2 separate regions of the Homo sapiens genome follow, and region 2 is linked to region 1. Evidence: promoter capture Hi-C in human tissues and cell types (Jung and others, 2019). All regions are on one chromosome and are shown on one strand. The core of a region is centred on a gene start or on the middle of the fragment in contact, and the rest is flanking DNA. Distances in the headings are between cores, read along the strand shown. Region 1 holds the start of KCNK10 (potassium two pore domain channel subfamily K member 10). Region 2 overlaps KCNK10-AS1 (KCNK10 antisense RNA 1).

The links. The method cuts DNA at HindIII sites, captures the fragments that hold promoters and counts their contacts. A contact is called where the count stands out against the background at its distance.
Region 2: a contact is called between a fragment that was not itself captured here and the fragment with the promoter of KCNK10 in region 1, in 1 of the 25 tissues and cell types used here (dorsolateral prefrontal cortex).

What each region holds. Positions count from the first base shown.
Region 1 is chr14:88,321,835-88,325,015 of GRCh38, forward strand. KCNK10 (potassium two pore domain channel subfamily K member 10) reads right to left here and starts at 1,435. Exons shown (of 7, transcript NM_138317.3): 1 at 913-1,435. The coding sequence starts at 964. RefSeq lists enhancers at 781-1,440, 2,013-2,072 and a silencer at 1,723-1,962. The HindIII fragment of the contact is 9,751 bases long and covers 1-3,181 here.
Region 2 is chr14:88,169,307-88,172,487 of GRCh38, forward strand. All of the region lies in intron 1 of KCNK10-AS1 (KCNK10 antisense RNA 1), which reads left to right. Among named protein-coding and RNA genes, the nearest start is that of KCNK10-AS1, 10 kb to the left of the region's middle. The HindIII fragment of the contact is 4,258 bases long and covers 1-3,181 here.

The DNA.
Region 1 (3,181 bases), core at 185-2,684:
GACACAGTCGTCAGATGAGCTACAAGAAATGCTAAAGAGCATTCTTGTCACAACTGGACACGCGGTTCCAACTTGTTCTGCTCTCATACTGATCACTCCCTTGGAGCCTTAACATCTGTATGCTAATTACAGACACGGTGGCCGACGCTAGGCACACACAAATCCGTCTTAATCCCTCCCTTTTGCGTGGATGAAACCTGGTCCAACATTCGTAAAAGCATGCAAACCACACCATTGCTTGGGCGGGCACACTTCGTGCCCCTCCCCTATGCCTTGCCAGCCCCACCCTTCTCACAAACCACCCCTCCTCCTGCTTCTACTCTGACCTGAGCCTAACTAGCTGCTAGGTTTGGTAATAAGATTGAACGAAGACTCAGGAGGCCCTGTGGGCTCCATTATTCTGCATGCCCTGCGAGAACGGCCCACCCCTAGGGACGGCTGCTGCAACTCGAGCCCCACTTGCTGCCAGGAAACCTTTCCCACTGAGGACACCCGGGCATGCGGCGCAGCTCCAGGTCCAGGGGGAAGCACCCCACCCATCTGCCAGAGAGACAAAGATCACCAGAAACAAAGGACACACACACACACACACACACACACACACACTCGCACACTCAAAGTCAAAAGCAAATACCGACACTTGCAATTTCAAACCAAACAGTCGGCTTGGTCTATCTAAATAGATCTGGAGACAATCTAGGAGGGACAATGATTATGTGGTAATGACAGGCACTATCTGGGTTCGGAACCCACGCTGCCTCCGCCCTCCTCCCACCCGCGCTGCAGTTCCCAGGCGCATTTCCCAGCCTCAGGACACACGCTGCCAGAAGCAAGAGTGCTTCCACTCAAGGAAGCGCGCACACGCCGGAGACAGAGGCAGGGCGAGGGCAGCCAAAAGTAGGAAACACCCACCTTTAGGATCCCAGTTCACCTGTTTTCTTGGCGTCTCGATTGGAAATTTCATTGCTTCGTTGCCCAGAAGGGGAAGAAATGAAAAGAACCCAAATAATAATAAAGTCCTCAAGCTTTACACGCCTCGGTTTAGCAGTCCAACAAAACAATTTCCGAGGATGGGGGAGCCTTGGACTGGCTCGTGGAGGAACCCCAGAAAAAGACAGGTGGGAAAATATTAGCTTGGGGGAGAACTGGAGAGGGCTTGGGTGTTTGCACCGGCCAGGGGGTGGCCGGCCGCGGCCCCGTGGGTAAAAGAAAAAGTAAGATCGGCGAGGGGTGGATGAAAGGATGGAGAGGAAGGCTTGGGGAGATGGAAGAGCCAAGCTGCTTCCCAAAAGCGGTGCCGGCAGGTTAGGGGCTGCGCAGCCTGAAGGCTGGGGCTACGGAGAAGCCCACTGCAGTGTCACTCCAGCCCCCGAAGGCGTGTGCGCACACACTCCCGCACACACACACCCGCACACACACTCCCGGGCGCGCGCTTGGGCGGGCACGTCAGCCTCGCTCGGCCGCGCTGAGCGCACACGCCCCACCCCGGCCGCGGCTCCTCGCCCCCGGCGACGCCCCCCACTTCCCGCTCCCCGAAAGCCATTGGATGTAGGGGTGGCGCGGCGCCCGGGCAGCGCGCGGCGAGGGCGACCCTCCCCGCGGCGCGCCCCAGACGCCGCGCCCCGGCAAGAGGGAGCAGGGCGAGCAGCGGACCGAGGCTCCCAGCTGGGAAGGCGCGCTGAGCCCCCGGCACCCGGCTCGGGGCAGCGGGAGGCGGTCGCGGACTTGCCCGCGGGGCGGCGGGAGGCGGTGGGCGGTGGCGGGGAAGCCGCGGAGGGGCGGGGAACGAGCGGTGGGCGCGCCGCTACTTACTGGCTCGGCCGGCCGGCGGGCGGGCGTGGAGGCGGCAGCGGCGCGCTTGCTGGAGTTGCAGCCGGAGACACGCTTGGTTGCCTGGAAGGCGCTGCAGGAGGCGGAGGAAGGGCCGCTGCGGCTCCGCCGCAGACCTCGGCCTCCGGGTCACCTCTTCTCACCGCTCTCACCCTGAGCTCTCCCTCCTTCTCTTTTCTCACTTCATTTTTTTTCCTCCCGCGTCTGGCTCTCTCGCCTGAGTCCCGAACCCACGTCCCCGCCGCACTCCAAGGAGGCCCGTGCCAGCCATGAGCCTTTTGTTCTGGGACCGCTCCGCATCTGCTGCGCTCTCCCCGCCCGGGGAAGCTCGCTCCCAAGGCACAGCTTGGTCCCTTCCCCAGCTACCTGCAGCCGGACTGGGGCCGCTGGTCGTTGGCTGGAAAGGAGGCTTGAGAGAGGCACGGGGGCCCCCGGAGGAAAGCGGAGTTGCCAAGACCCGGCAGCTCCCGGAAGCGGCGGCCCCGGGATCCTGGGACCAGCAGGGCAGATGCGAAGGGACCCAGACCTGTTCCCGGAAAGGGGCTAAACCTGGAGCATTCGTCTAACGCCCTCTCACTGCCCCTGCTTGAAGCCCCACAGGGGTTTGTGGTGGGGCCTCAGTCTTCAGAAAAGCCAGGTGGTGCTGAGGTGCTCTTGAACGGGTCACTCCGAGTATCAACATGAATGATGCTGACAAATTGCTTCGGATGCCTCGCAACGGAGCCTTACACGTAGTAGGTGCTCAAGAAATACTTGCTAAATGAAGACATGAATTGCATGCTGCAGTGTTGGATAGGAAGTAGTTTAAACCCCTACTCTGGCTTCCAGATAAGGTTACTAAAATTTGTTGTTCATTCAACATATATATTGAACCCCTTCCAAGTGCCATCACTGTGCTATGTGCTGGCCATATGGCAGAGAACAAGACAGAGATCTTGCCTTCATGGGGCTTACTATCTAGTGCCATAAGGTCCTGTTAGATTGTTGTTGCCTTTACTTACGCATAGAAATTGCCCAGCTCATTCCTATGCCTGCCAGCTGGGGTCCTAAAATCCCACACTAGCAGCTGATCTCTAAGTTGCATGCTACTCTACGGCACCTTGAGGCTTCTGGGGAGCCCTATGTCAGCAGCATCTTTCTCACCATCCATCCGTCACTATCACATCAAGGTTTCTGAGTCCAAGAGCAAGACCTACAGAGGTCCGCTGTGGTCTGTGGGAAAGGTGAGTGCTTTGTCACTGGGCTGTCACAGGCACCCCAGGCTGGAGCCCTGAATTCTCTGCAAACCCCGTTCAGGCAAAACTGGTACCAATCTGATGGTGCTACTCTGACTCTTCAGCCCTTTAGGCAG
Region 2 (3,181 bases), core at 443-2,942, 150 kb before region 1:
AGAGAAAGTTGAAAACAAACATAAAGAAATCGGAAAAACAATTCAACATATGTATGTCTCGTATATGTTATATATATATACATATTTGAGACAGGGTCTTGCTCTGTCACCTAGGATGGAGTGCAGTGGCACGATCTCAGCTCACTGCAACCTCCACCTCCTGGATTCAAGGAACTCTCCTGCCTCAGCCTCCCCAGTAGCTAGGACTACCGGTGCTGGCCACCACGCCTGGCTAGCTTTTGTATTTTTAGTAGAGACAGTTTTACCATGTTGGCCAGTCTGATCTCAAACTCCTAAACTCAAGTGATCTGCCTGCTTGGACTCCCAAAGTGCGGGCATTATAGGCATTAGCCACCACACCCGACTGAGGTGGCTATATTTAAAAACAAGCAAAACTTCTGGAAATAAAAAATTTGCTACAGCAATTTCAAAATACAGTTGAAAGCTTTAACAATAGACTAGATCAAGCAGAAGAATTTCAGAGGTTGAAGACCAGTCCTTTGAATTAACTCAGTCAGATAAAAATAAATAAACATATTTTTTTAAAAAAATGAACAAAGCCTTCAAGGAATATGGAATTATGTAAAAATGACCAAACCTATGACTTATAGGCATTTCTGAGACAGGAGAAGAAGAAAAAGTAAGCAATTTGGAAAAGATATTTGAGGCAATAATTCAGGAAAATTTATCTGATCTTGCTAGAGAGGTAGACATTCAGTTACAAAAATTTCAGAAAACACCTGCAAGGTACTATATAAGATGAATATCACCAAGGCATACAGACATCAGACCATCAAGATCAATGCTAAAGAAAAAATCTTAAAGTCAGCTAGATAAAAAGGTCAAATCACCTATAAAGAAAATCCCATCAGACTAACAGCAGACTTCTCAGGAGAAGCTTTACACATCAGAAGACATTGAGGGCTTATCTTCAGCCTTCTTAAAGAAAAAAAAATGCCAATCAAGAATTTTATATCCTAATAAACTAAGCTTCATAAACAAAAGAGAAATAAAGTCTTTCACAAACAAGTAGATGCAAAGGGAATTCATCACCACTAGACCTAGCCTACAATAAATGCTCAAAGTAGTTCTAAACAGAAACAAAAAGACAAAACAATACTCACTAACATAAAAGCACACATAAGGGCAAAGTTCACAGATCCTATAAAGCAGTTATACAATTAAGACTACAAAGCAACTAGCTAGCAACACTAAGAAACAAACCTCATGTGTCAATATTAACAAAGAAACAAACCTCACATGTCAATATTAGTCTTGGATGTCAACAGCCTAAATATTCCACTTAAAGTATACACATTGGCAAATTGGATTTAAAAAATTAGACCCAACCATCTGCTGCCTACAAGACACCCACTTAATGTATAAAGACACCCATAATATCAAAGTAAAGGGATGAAAAATGTTTTATCACTCAAATGAAAAACAAAAAACAGTAGGGAATTGCTATTCTTAGATAAAACATACTTTAATTAGAAAAGAAGACTTAACTATCCTAAATATATACACACCCAACACTGGAGCACCCAGACTTATAAAACAAATTCTGCTAGACCTAAGAAAAGATATAGACAGCCATACAAAAATAGTGAAGGATTTCAACATTCCACTGACAGTACTAGATAGATCATCAAGGCAGAAAACTAACAAAGAAACTCTGGAATTATACTGGACTCTTGACCAAATGGACCTAATAAACATCTACAGAACATACCACCCAGCAACTGAAGAATATTTTTCTCATCTGCATATAAAACATTCTGTAAAATTGACCATATCCTTAACCGTAAAGCAAGTCTCAATAAATTCAAAATAATGAAATCCTATCAAGTATCTTCTCATATCACAATGGATTAAAATCAAATATCATTACCAAAAGGAATTCTCAAAACCACACAAGTACATGGGAACTAAACAACTTGCTCCTGAAAGACTTTTCAGTACACAATGAAATTAAGACAGAAATCAAAAATATTTTTGAAACAAATGAAAATAGAGACACAACATACAAAAACCTCTGGAACAGAGAAAAAACAGTATTAAGAGGGAAGTTTATAGCATTTCATGCCTTCATCAAAAAGAAAGATCTCAAATTAGCAACCTAACATCACACATCAAGAAACTATAAAAATAAGAATAAACCCAAAGCTAGCAGAAGAAAAGAAATAACAAAGATTGGAACAGAACTCAATGACATTGAGACCAAAAAAAACTATACAAAGGATCAGTGAAATGAAGTTGGTTCACTGAAAAGATAAACAAAATTGATAGACCACTAGCTAGAATAACCACATTAAAAAGAGAGAAAATGTAAATAAACAGAACCAGAAATAATAAAGATGACATTACAAATGCACAGAAAGTAAAAAGGATCATCACAGACTACTATGAACTTTTCTGTGCACACAAACTAGAAAATCTAGAGGAAGTTAATAAATTCCTAGAGACATACAACCTTCCAAGACTGAATCAGGAAAAAACAGCAGTCCTGAACAGACCAATAAGAGTAACAAAATTGTATCTGTGATTTAAAATATTTCAACAGGAAAAAAAAGCCCAAGACAAGACAGATTCACAGCCAAATTTTATCAAATGTAAAAAGAAATGCTGGTACCAATATTATTGAAACCATTCCCAAAAATCAAGGAGGGGAGATTCCTTCCTAACTCATCCTATGAAATCAGCATCATCCTGTTACCAAAATCTGGCAAGGACACAACAGAGAAAGAAAGATACAGGCCAATATCTTTGGTAAATATAGACATAAAGTTCCTCAACAAAATACCAGTGAACTGAATCCAATAGCACATCAAAAGAAAATTCTAGGGATACAAGGATGGTTCAATATACACAAATCAATAAATGTGATTCACCACATAAACAGAAGTAAAAACAAAACCCATATGATCATCTCAATAGATACAGAAAAGGCATTTGATAAAATCTAGTATCCTTTCATGAAAAAACATCCTCAACAAAATAGACATCAAAGAAACATACCTCAAAATAGTAACAGCCCATATATGACAAACCCCCAGCCAACATCAAGAATAAGAAAAAGTTGAAATTATTCTCCCTAAGAACTGGAACAACACAAGGATGTCCACTCCCACCCTGCCTATTCAAAATAGTACTGGAAGTCCTAGCCAGAGAAATCAGGCAA